4 separate regions of the Homo sapiens genome follow, and regions 1, 2 and 3 are each linked to region 4. Evidence: promoter capture Hi-C in 16 types of primary human blood cells and fetal thymus (Javierre and others, 2016). All regions are on one chromosome and are shown on one strand. Each heading gives the region's core, a stretch centred on a gene start or on the middle of the fragment in contact. The rest is flanking DNA. Distances are from core to core; before and after follow the strand shown.

Region 1 (2,700 bases), core at 3-2,502, 960 kb after region 4:
GTTAAGATCCCTGATTATGACGTGAGCTGCCACTAATGTGACTCTTATGCCTGTCATGGAACAGAGCACACAGCAGGGACTCTCTCTCTTTGGCGGAGTTGATATTGCTGTATATTCCGGGTCCTCCAAATGAGAACAAAGCTGTTCCTTGAAAAAAGAAAGCACAATTCAGCCCCCTGGGGGCCTACTGGATGCCAGTACAAGCTCCCATTTCTCTGCTTCTCCAAGAGCATGATCCAATGCCTGCTGTGCTGTTGAGATAACAGGGTACACTTTCATGTGCTGGAAGTGGTGACACAGGCAGGCTTGGGGTAATCTTGGAAGTGGTCATGTATGTATTCCTAGTCACAAGACACAAGCAACAGGCCTTAAGAAATGAATTAGCTCTTAGAGCCCTTGTTCATTGTAGGTGGGAATGTAAAATGGTGCAGCTGCTATTGTAAACAGTATGAAGGTTTCTAAAATATTAAAAATTAAAAATAAAATTACCACCTGGCCTAGCAATCACACTTCTGGATACAGATCCCAAATAGTTGAAAACAGAGCCTCAGAAAGGTATTTGCACACCCATGTTCCCTGACCCATTATTCATATTAACCAAAAGGTAGAAGCAACCCAATGTCTATTAACAGATGAATGGATTTTTAAGATGTAGTATATACATACACTGGAATATTATTCAGCCTTTGAAAAGAAGGAATGCTGTCAAATGTTACAGCATAGGTGAAGGGCATTACACTAAGTGAAAAAGTCAATCACAAAAAGACAAAAGCTATATGATTTCACTTATATGAGGTATTTAAAGTAGTCAAACTCACAAAAAGAAAGAACAGTGGTAGACAAAACCTAGAAAGAAAGGGAACTGGGAAGTTGTTGTTTCAGTTTTGCAAGATGACAAAATTCTAGAGATCAGTTGCACAACAATGTGAATACAGTTAACCCTGCTGAACTATACACATAAAAACGGCTTAGATGATAAATTCTATGTTATACAATTTTATTATAATTTTGGAAAATGTAAGGAAAAAATGCATTAACTCTTAATTATGCACTATGCAAACTCATTTATGCATGGGGATTTGACATTAATCATTTGGTTGATCCTAGAAAAGGATGTAAACTGAATCCTCTTAAATAAGATCACTTTTATTGTCAAAATTTTAATATTCTTTGTGTAAAACTGATTTAAAAGATTTTATCTCTTCTTCTGGTTATTTTTCCCTTTATAAGGAAACATGTATTTTTACATTTATATCAATTACTATATCTATTTGTTAACATTTTCTTAAAAGTGTTTTCTCCAGATATTGGCTGTAAAAAAAGTTGTTAAAAAGAAGAAGAGGAAGAAGAAGAAAGAAGAAGAAGGAGGAAGAGGAGGTGGAGGAGGAGGAGAAAGAGGAAGAAGAAGAAGAAGAGGAGGTGGAGGAGGAGGAGGAGAAAGAGGAAGAAGAAGAAGGAGGAGGAGGAGCAGGAGGAGGAGGAGGAGGGGGAGGAGAAGGAGGAGGGGGAGGAGGAGGGGGAGGAGGGGGAGGAGGAGAAAGAGGAGGAGAAAGAGGAGGAGGAGGAGGCAGTGGCAGGAAGGCAAAAAGAGAAGGAAAGAAGAAAAGAAAAGGAAGGAAAGAAGAAAGAAAGAGAGAGAAAGAAAAGAAAGGAAAGAAGGAAGGAAAGAAAGAAAGAAGAAAGAAAGGAAGAGAAAAAGAAAGAAAGAAGAACGAATGAAAGAAAGAAAGAGAAAAGAAAGAAAGAGAAAGAAAGAAGAGAAATAAATCTCGGGCTGAGAAAATCTGCAAATAAGCGCATAATTAGCTCTGAGTATCTTGAGGATGAAGTCAAAGAGGGAAGCACACTGGTTATGATAGAGATAGGTGGCAGCCAAGGCCTACCCCTCACAAAACCCTGCCTTCAAGCATAAAACACTTGACAGCTGAAAAACCGAACTGCCAGTCTGGAAGACTCTGCAACTGACCTGTGCACTGGCAGGACAGATTGGAGCCATGGGAAGTTCTCAGGTTTGCAAGGAGAAGGAGCCTGGCCCTTCTGTTCCTGGGTGGGAACCTGGAATTCAAACTGTGAGATGAGGGCCTGTTAACAGGAACCCCTCTCTCACTTTGCTGTATTGTTTTTCCTCTTTCCTTTTCGCCCAGTACATTTCGTCCCCCTCGCCCTTCAAAGTGTCTGTGAGCCTAATCTTTCCTGGTTGTGTGGCAAGAACCTGGATTTTCCTACAACAGTTACATATGTTTCATTGTCTTAGAAAATGAAACACTCTAGTCTGTCAAAAAGCAAACGTTTTCTGGCTCTGGTGTCTGCGAGCAAGTTCTCAAGTGGGTGGATATAGTGACTGGCATCCTGGAACAATGTCCCTCCAGTAGTTTCACAAAGAAGGCACAGAAGTTCTACTCACGACTGTTTCTTATGAAGCTGAGGCACGCTGCGAGGCTTTGCTTTTGTGATGAAGAAACTCGAGACTAGACCTGACACATGAATAGAACTCAGGGAACTTTGAGGAACAGGGCCCTTGGCAAATGTCAGTTGTCTCAGCTAGACTTTCGAAATGAACCATATTCAGACAGTTCACAAGTAGAGTGTCTAACAAGAAGCTGAAGGACTGATAAGCAATATTGTAACGGACAGGGTATCAATACACTCCCGTTACCAGATGTGTAAGCAGCAGAGAACCCTCTCATGAACATTGAGGTG
Region 2 (2,854 bases), core at 169-2,668, 1.0 Mb after region 4:
GTCTATTATAAAATATACTCAAAATCTACTCTAGGTACAACAAGCCATCTAAAAATATGACAATACGATGCTGCCCTTGCTTGGGCAAATAAAACATAACCCCAAAATCCTGCCTGGAGACTGGGTTCTATTAAAAACTTAAAAAGAAAAAGCTCCCCAACAGATCAACTTCTTCCTAAATAGATTAAAAAAAAAAAAAAAACTTTAACAAGTACTACTAGCACACCAATGGCTGTAAAGCTACAAAAAATAGCTAGTCGGGTCCACAGGACCAAAATTAAACTTTACAATAAACCTTTACAAACACCAGAAAAAGCTGCTAATTACACTTGCATGCCCATAGGGGATCGAAAACTTCTATTCAAAAAAACAACCCCAAATGGAGCCAAGTTGAAAAATAAATAACATCTTCATTTTCTTGGCACTTGCCTGCCATGCTCTAATGGCTTTTAGAGACACTGACCTGTCTACTAGAAAAATAAATAACCATACCATCAGTCTATTAAACTTAACTCAACTTTGTTGGCTTTGCATGACCAAAAAGTTAAAAATATGCCAGACCTGTGCCCTTAAAAGACTGACCTAGCATCCCAACACATCTCCAGAGAAAAACTCACTGCCTCAGAGAATGGGGATATCAGGCCTAATAGTTAATACAAAAAAAAAAAACTGTGGGGTCAAGTCATAGGTTCTTTAAGTTCTTCCTCTTAACTATCAACAATAGTTCAAATGTCCCAAAAGAAAAAAAAAAGATTTCTTATTTTATCTTTTATCCAGAACTATTCCCCTTTTGCCTTTTCAACAATCATGTTAGCTCCACCACTTTCGTAAGAAAATTTCAAGAGTCAGTGTAGCTGAACTGTTGTCACTGGGTCATCTATCTTAGTCAATACCTCTACAAAAATTAAACTAATAAATAAACAACTCACTCGTCCAACCAATTTCCTGCTCTATCATGTCCCCAAACAGGTATGGCCTCTATTCCCTGTCAACAAAACTAGAATCTATAGCTTATCTGGGGCAACGCTCACATGTGAAGCCTTTATCCATCCAATCTCAATATATCTTCTGAGAATTGTCAACATATCCGATCAAAAAATCACTACACCTTGTAGTGGGACCCTTAAAACAAAACTTTATTCCAAACATGTATTAATGCCACCATCCAACTTAACCATTCATTAATAGACCTAATAACCACTACCAGGTTTTGTGTTAAATACACAAAACCTTTCATTTATAGACCACAAATATTTTTTTAAAAAAACCCTCCAGTACTTTCACCACTTTAATACAAAATATTTTACAACGCAAATTTCACCATCACAAAAAATGTGGAGAAGTTATAAATCTTCAGCATATTGACAACTCCCTCCACAGTGGAAGGGATGATGCGCCATTGCTTACATTTCCCCCTGATTTTCGCATAGACGGACACATCTCTCCTTTCCCCATGTACCAACATCACAAGATCCACCTCCGAGGAAAACCCTTTATTTCTTTAGTGTTAGTTCTATCCTCTCTATTAAAATTAGCAGGGTCAGCTACCAGAGGAGCAGACTTAAAAATCTAGCATTAACTGTCTTTAAAAATCACATTGACCTTCTGGCATACAGCAGAGGGCCTCACTAGACTTCAACAACAGCTAGACTCCCTGACCGCTATAATCTTACAAACCAAAGAGCCTTAAATCTTCTCACAGCCAGATAAAAAGAACAAAACAAAACAAGACAAAAACATATTTATATCTATTTATATCTTTTTAAAAATACTGCTTTCACATCAATCAGTTCTGTTTAGTCAAAAAAAATATTAAATATCATTACCCAGGCAGACAAAATTAAATCTTTAAAACCTTACATAAAAACTTAAAAACCATGACTACTGTCTGCCTTTCTCCCTGTAATGATGCCAGTCATCACCATACTTTTAACTTTTACTTTTGGTTCAACTTTGTTTAAAATACTAGCTAGTTCCTTACTGTCTCACTTACAACAATTCCAGGTCCACATGATGGTTTTACAAGACTTTCAACCTTTGGCTGCTAATGAGCTATCTCACATCTTGCTACCAGTCCCATAAATGCCATGGCTTACATCCCGTTAAACCAGACAAAAACAGACTCTAAGGACAAGGCTAGGCAGGAACAAGGCTCCACTCAACAAAAAACAATGCCAAAAAAATGACCTAGCCCCTCAACTTCCCATGTAATTATGGGCCCTAAAATCTCTTAGGGAGAAATTGGAGTAGAATAGGTAGTCAGGGAAGGGACAATGTCCTTGAGACACAACAAGCATGGTGACTGTACAGTCAACACAATAAGCCTAAGCATTCACATTGTAATTGAGTTCATCCAAACAAAGCTATCCAGTAGAAAATTTCCCCTGTAGAGATCATGCACACATTGATTTTACCTGTCCTTAAACTGGCCCTTTGCTCATTATAATAGTAAGAAACACATTCCTGGGTAGAGATTTCGATACTAATGAGACATGTGATGTATAAACAATCACGTACATCTACTGAGCATGTGCTCCCCAAAGACCACCCAAAACATGCTTACGAGCTTCACTTCTTCCCATCGCCTTATAAATAATCATATAAAACTCCCATGAAAAGAATTTCTTCAACAATATTCAACGCTGTCTCATCCTTGCGAGCAGCCTGCCCTAAACGCTGTCTCTCAGAGTGTACTGTCTTTTCTAACTTTTGAAATACATTTTTTTCCTTTTACAATAAATTACTATGCTACCTCTCCTTTGCTGTGTGTCTCTTATTTAAATTCTTTTAAACAAAAGAAAAACAAAGAACCAAGGTGTCTCACAACAGTTGACAACAATATGAGATGTATATT
Region 3 (2,808 bases), core at 37-2,536, 980 kb after region 4:
TAATCTCAGCACATTTGGAGGCCAAGGTGGGCAGATCACTTAAGGCCCCATGTTCGAGATCAGCCTGGCCAACATGGTAAAACCCTGTCTCTACAAAAAACACAAAAATTAGCTGGATGTGGTGGTGGGCACCTGTAATCCCAGCTACTTACATGGCTGAGGTGGGAGACTTGCTTGAACCTGGGAGGCAGAGGTTGCAGTGAGCTGTGATTGCCACTGCACCCCAGACTAGGCAGGAAAAAAAAAGAAAAGAAAATGTATCATATTCTATGCAACACTCTGGGTGACTTGTTTTGTTCACGCAACAGTTTTTGAGATTTATCCAAGTTGTTCCATTTTGGTTTCTGTATGAAATTCCATTGTATGAATATACAGCACTGCATTTATCATGCTCCCATGATGGACATTTGTGTCTGCACTTTCTCTATCACCAACAATCTGACTATGTTTTTAAACAATTTGCCTTGTGTCCATATTCCTGCATTTCTCTAGGGCAGCAGTTTACAAACATTTTTGTCTCAGGACCCGTTTACACTCCTGAAGCTTATTTAGGACCATAACAAGATTTGTATATGTGTCTTACAGCTATCAACATTTACCATATTAGATATCAAAACTGAGAAAATTAAAAAATATATATAAATTCATTCATTTTTAAAAGCACTAATAAACCCACTATATGTTAATTATTACATTAAAGCTGTGTATAGCTGTAAATGTATAGACTATTACCAAATTGTTCTCCAAAGTGATTGACAAAATGCATACCAATAGTATACAAGCATTTCTGTTTCTTTATATCTTCTACAACACTTGGTATAGTTAGGCTTATTAAATTTGATCAGTCAGATGGTTAGGAGAGAGTGTCTCATTATTGTTCTAATTCCTACTTCCCTGCAACAACAAGGTTCTTTATTAACTCTTCCCAAGTTACCAAGTTTAAGCACACTCAGGACTCTGATGTAGATTACTTTACAAAATTTTGTTTTAAAGTGATTGTTCAGAACTCAGAATACATTATTATTATTATTACCATTAAACATAGAGACAGGTTATAAATAGTGGGCACTGTTCCAGACTAGCCCACAAAGACTGAGTTACCCTAAGACGTAGAGGGTTAAGAAATCTAAGGGACATGTGGGGGGACACAACACATGCTGGGGCTGGCCAGGAGGGTAGGGGGAGAAAGAGCATAAGGATAAAGAGTTAATACATGTGGGGCTTAAAACCTAGGTGATGGGTTGACAGGTGCAGCAAATCACCATGGCACACATTTACCCATGTAACAAATCTGCACATCCTGCACATGTATCCTAGAACTTAAAATAAAAGTTGTTGGAAAAAAAAGACTAATAGCACAGCACAGTCAGGGGAGGGCTGGTCTTGAACTTAAGACGCAGTCTCAGATCCCGCTCTGTCAATACTCATCTGTGTTACCTCCCTGAATCTATTTTTCTCAACTATGAAATGAGTATAATAACACACATTCTCCTACTTCACAGAGTATTGCAAGGATCAAATGAGATGTAAAAATCCATTAAAACTCTGTGATGGTATATCCACACAATTGAGCACTATGCAGCTATAAAAAAAGAATAAGGAAGATATCTACAAACTGATACAAAGTCATTTCTAGGACATGTTGTTTAGGATAATAATAAAAGGACAAAAGATATATATATAAATATATATATATCTTTTGTGTATGAAAGACATACAGATATAGATGTTAGATATAGATATAGATACCTATATCTCTGTATGGCTCCATTAGCCTATTTTTGTAAAAAGAAACACAGGACAGAGAAAATTGAAACTGATGAGATTGGTTGCCTGTTGAGGTAGTCAGGAATTTATTGGAAGGGATACAGAAGAGAAAGTCAAATGTTTGAGTATATATCTGTATAGTATGGACTTTTTGAACCCATTAATGTTTACATACTCCAAAATTAAATAAAATTAAACTGAGTCAATAAAATCGAAGGGGGCAAGTCCTAAAAGGTCACACAAATGAAACAATTAAGCTTAATTGTATTTCAAATGGAGAGCATGACCACAGTGAAGAGGAGGGAAACTAACACAAATAATTTTGTTTTTAAAAAATCAATTTACTCTGATTTGTTTTTTGAACAGAATATTTTGACTATAAGAAAAAACTGATTGTGGACAAATCTTGAACTCTAGTAGGGTTTGTTTTAGCAGTGTTGTGGGTTAGCAATTCTGAACAACTTCCTATGTATCATAGGAGTTAGCAATGAGTACATGTATTGATGATGTTGAGAAGAGACATACAAATACATAATAGCAAAAGGCTAAGAAGAACCCTGTGGCATTGAATTGGAATTGGTGGTATTAGCCTGAACGCATGGTTTTTAAATACTATTATAGACATAGTCACACTTGTGAGTACGTGTGTGTATTCTCCAGGTTTTCTGCTGAAAGGACCTCAAAACAATGACACCCAAAAGCAATACACACATTTAGTATCCAAATGTCTATATACTGTCTCCCACTAAAAAGAAGCAGGACTTCTCCAAAAACAAAAAGGCTAGGGTAGGGAAAATGCTATACAAGCCCTGAACACTTTGTTATGTCATAACAAAGAAGTGCTAAAAAAAAAAAAAGAAATGCTAGGGACATGTTAAAAGGACATGAGGAAAAGCTTGAAGGAGCTTTTCTCGATCAAAGGCTGGGAAAAGTTGAGCATCAAGTTCAATAATATTAATAATAGATTATAAACCATTGGGTAAAATAAGAATCTGTTATTCCCTACTGATTAAACAAACAAAGAAATAAGTATATAAGAGA
Region 4 (2,701 bases), core at 170-2,669:
GTTTACAAATGAAGACACAGGATCAGACAGGTTAAGACATTTCTCCTAAGTTCACAAAACTACTAAGTAGCAGGACTAAGAGGCAAACCAAAATTGGTGGGACTACTAACTCCATGCTGCCTCTTAGTGATGTGGGTTTATAATAGGAAAGATGAGGTACACAATAGCTTCCTATCCCTTGATACTGTTTACTACTACTGAACCAACTATGGGAGCTGGAACTATTCTACATTAAGTTCACCTCCTAATGTTACACTGATCTCTCCAGCCTCCAAATTCTTCGCTTTATGCACTGCTTATTTTGGCACCCAATCATACTCCATCTTAAAATGTTATGCTAAGTATTCATACCCTATTTCTCCGAAGAAATCTGTAGGCTTCCAAAAGGTAGAACTGTCTTTTACACTTACATACCTACCCATCAATAGAGTTCAGCACCGACTAAGGATTTGATGTCCTTATTTCCACATTCGCAAAGCTCAGCAGTATGTTACAATGGATGGTGGTTTGTTCACATTAGAATGAAGTGTGGTTGTAAAGTAATACAGTAAAACTGTTCTACCAAGATTCTCCTTAGTATCTCCTTACTGATATTTACTTGTCAAATTTTTATCAATAATCTTATAATGAGACACAAAAACGCCTAAAATGAGAAAAGTGGCGTTAGTATCTGATAAAACGGGATTTGGTGCGCTACTATTTAGCTAACTAATACTAGTGTCCTACACAACATTACGAAATTTTATTTCCCAGTTTCTTCAGTGCAATGTTTTAAAGACCACAGCTTAGACAACTAGGCTGTATGGGCATAGAGTGCATCGCTTTCCTTCACCCCTTTAAAAGAAAAACCTACCTGATAAAATGGAACCATTTTTATATTTAAGTAAGCAAGTCAGAAATAGCATCCAAGACAAAAAAGAACAAATCACGTATCATTACTGTTCAGGTGACTGTCTACTTCCCTGCGGCCACAGTAACCTTTCTTCTGGAGTAAGTCTCAAGAAGGAAGCATCAACCCGTGAACCGACCAACTGACCCCGCAAAATGTCATTCTAAACGAATAGCTATTTTTACATCATACGTGGGGTGGAAGGGAGACAAAGCACCAGCGCTGGAGGCTTGGGCACTTGTGTTCACGACCACCACAGTGTCAAGACCCGACATCGGGAGACCGGGCGCCGGATTCTATCCCCAGACGGGGTCGGGGAAAGGCTCCGCCGAGGCCAGAGGTGGCCTCCAACTCGCACCAGCCCGCGCCGTCACCAGCCCGCGTCCACCGCCGCGCTCCCTCCCCCGGCTCCTCGCCTCACCTGCAAATCCCGCGCGCTCGGAGGCCGCGGCCCGGAAGACCTCCTCTCCTGCTCGCCGGGCTCAGGGCCTCCGCCCTCCGCCATCTTCCGCTGGCTAGCGGCGCCCGCTGCGGACGCACCTGCCGCAACTTCCGGGGCCGGTTGCCTGGCAACCGCAGGAGGGGCGAAGACGCGCAAGGTGCGTGCGCGTCCCCGCTACCCGAACCCGCGCCCCCGCTTCCGGTGCTGGCCCACCTTTTTGGTTTCTCCTTTTTTCTTAAAGGGAGTTTCTCCGCAGGGAAACCTCTGTTAAGTTTTGTGTTGCTCCTGCTACTCGCCTAAAGGCACTGTAGGCCGCCCTAGAGGGCAGCATAGACTTGCAGATTCATTTAGCTCAACAATGAAAACATCCTCTGGATTTTTCATCTGATGAAAAATTGCAACCTCTCCATCTAGTCTTGGTCAGATTCTCTGATCTTTCCTATCAAGGATTGGATGGTACATCGTCACCACAGCGTGAATTAGCACTGAGAGTGAAAAACACCGTAAAAAGTGCTTGGAATAATTTGCTAAAAGCAGAACTCTGCCGGGCCTGTGGCTCACGCCTGTAGTCCCAGCACTTTGGGAGGCCGAGGCGGACGAGGTGATCGAGACCATCCTGGCCAACATGGTGAAACCCCTTCTCTACTAAAAAAAAAAATATATATATATATATATATATATATATATATACACACACATATATATATACACATATATACACACACATATATATATACACATATATATACATATATATACACATATATATATATATATATACACAAAAATTAGCTGGGCGTGGCGGAGCGTGCCTGTAGTCCGAGCTACTGGGGAGACTGAGGCAGGAGAATCGCTTGAATCAGGGAGTCGGAGGTTGCAGTGAGCCGAGATCGCGCCACTGCACTCCAGCCTGGCGACACAGGGAGGATCCGTCTCAAAAAAGAAAAAAAGCAGATCTCGAGACTATCAAGCCCTCGTCATTCAACTGAAATTGATTTAGACTCTGGTCTTCTTATCCTAGGCACTTTTTGTTTTTGAGACGGAGCCTCGCTCTGTCGCCCAAGCTGGAGTGCAGTGGCGCGACCTCGGCTCACTGCAGCCTCCACCTCCCGGGTTCAAGCAATTCTCCTGCCTCAGCCTCCCGAGTAGCTTGGACTACAGGTGCGTGCCGCCATGCCCGGCTAACTTTTGTATTTTTAGTAAAGACGGGGTTTCACCATGTTGGCCAGGATGGTCTTGATCTCCTGACCTCATGATCTGCCCACCTCGGCCTCCCAAAGTGCTGGGATTACAGGCGTGAGCCACTGCGCCTGGCCTCCTAGGCACTTTTATGCCCAAGGGATGCAAAGGTAAAAAGAAATAGTCCCAGT

Evidence for each region. The method cuts DNA at HindIII sites, captures the fragments that hold promoters and counts their contacts. A CHiCAGO score of 5 or more calls a contact.
Region 1: a fragment that was not itself captured here is called in contact with the fragment with the promoter of UBXN2B in region 4 in 1 of 17 cell types (neutrophils); the score reaches 7.9 in neutrophils.
Region 2: a fragment that was not itself captured here is called in contact with the fragment with the promoter of UBXN2B in region 4 in 1 of 17 cell types (neutrophils); the score reaches 5.8 in neutrophils.
Region 3: a fragment that was not itself captured here is called in contact with the fragment with the promoter of UBXN2B in region 4 in 5 of 17 cell types (neutrophils, monocytes, naive CD8 T cells and 2 more); the score reaches 9.5 in neutrophils.

What each region holds. Positions count from the first base shown.
Region 1 is chr8:57,447,556-57,450,255 of GRCh38, reverse strand. No RefSeq gene overlaps it. Among named protein-coding and RNA genes, the nearest start is that of LINC00588, 170 kb to the right of the region's middle. The HindIII fragment of the contact is 8,507 bases long and covers 1-2,700 here.
Region 2 is chr8:57,413,904-57,416,757 of GRCh38, reverse strand. No RefSeq gene overlaps it. Among named protein-coding and RNA genes, the nearest start is that of LINC00588, 140 kb to the right of the region's middle. The HindIII fragment of the contact is 3,332 bases long and covers 1-2,854 here.
Region 3 is chr8:57,430,645-57,433,452 of GRCh38, reverse strand. No RefSeq gene overlaps it. Among named protein-coding and RNA genes, the nearest start is that of LINC00588, 150 kb to the right of the region's middle. The HindIII fragment of the contact is 1,481 bases long and covers 546-2,026 here.
Region 4 is chr8:58,410,079-58,412,779 of GRCh38, reverse strand. UBXN2B (UBX domain protein 2B) reads right to left here and starts at 1,419. Exons shown (of 8, transcript NM_001077619.2): 1 at 1,311-1,419. The coding sequence starts at 1,394. RefSeq lists enhancers at 974-1,023, 1,304-1,353, 1,364-1,423. The HindIII fragment of the contact is 12,087 bases long and covers 1-2,701 here.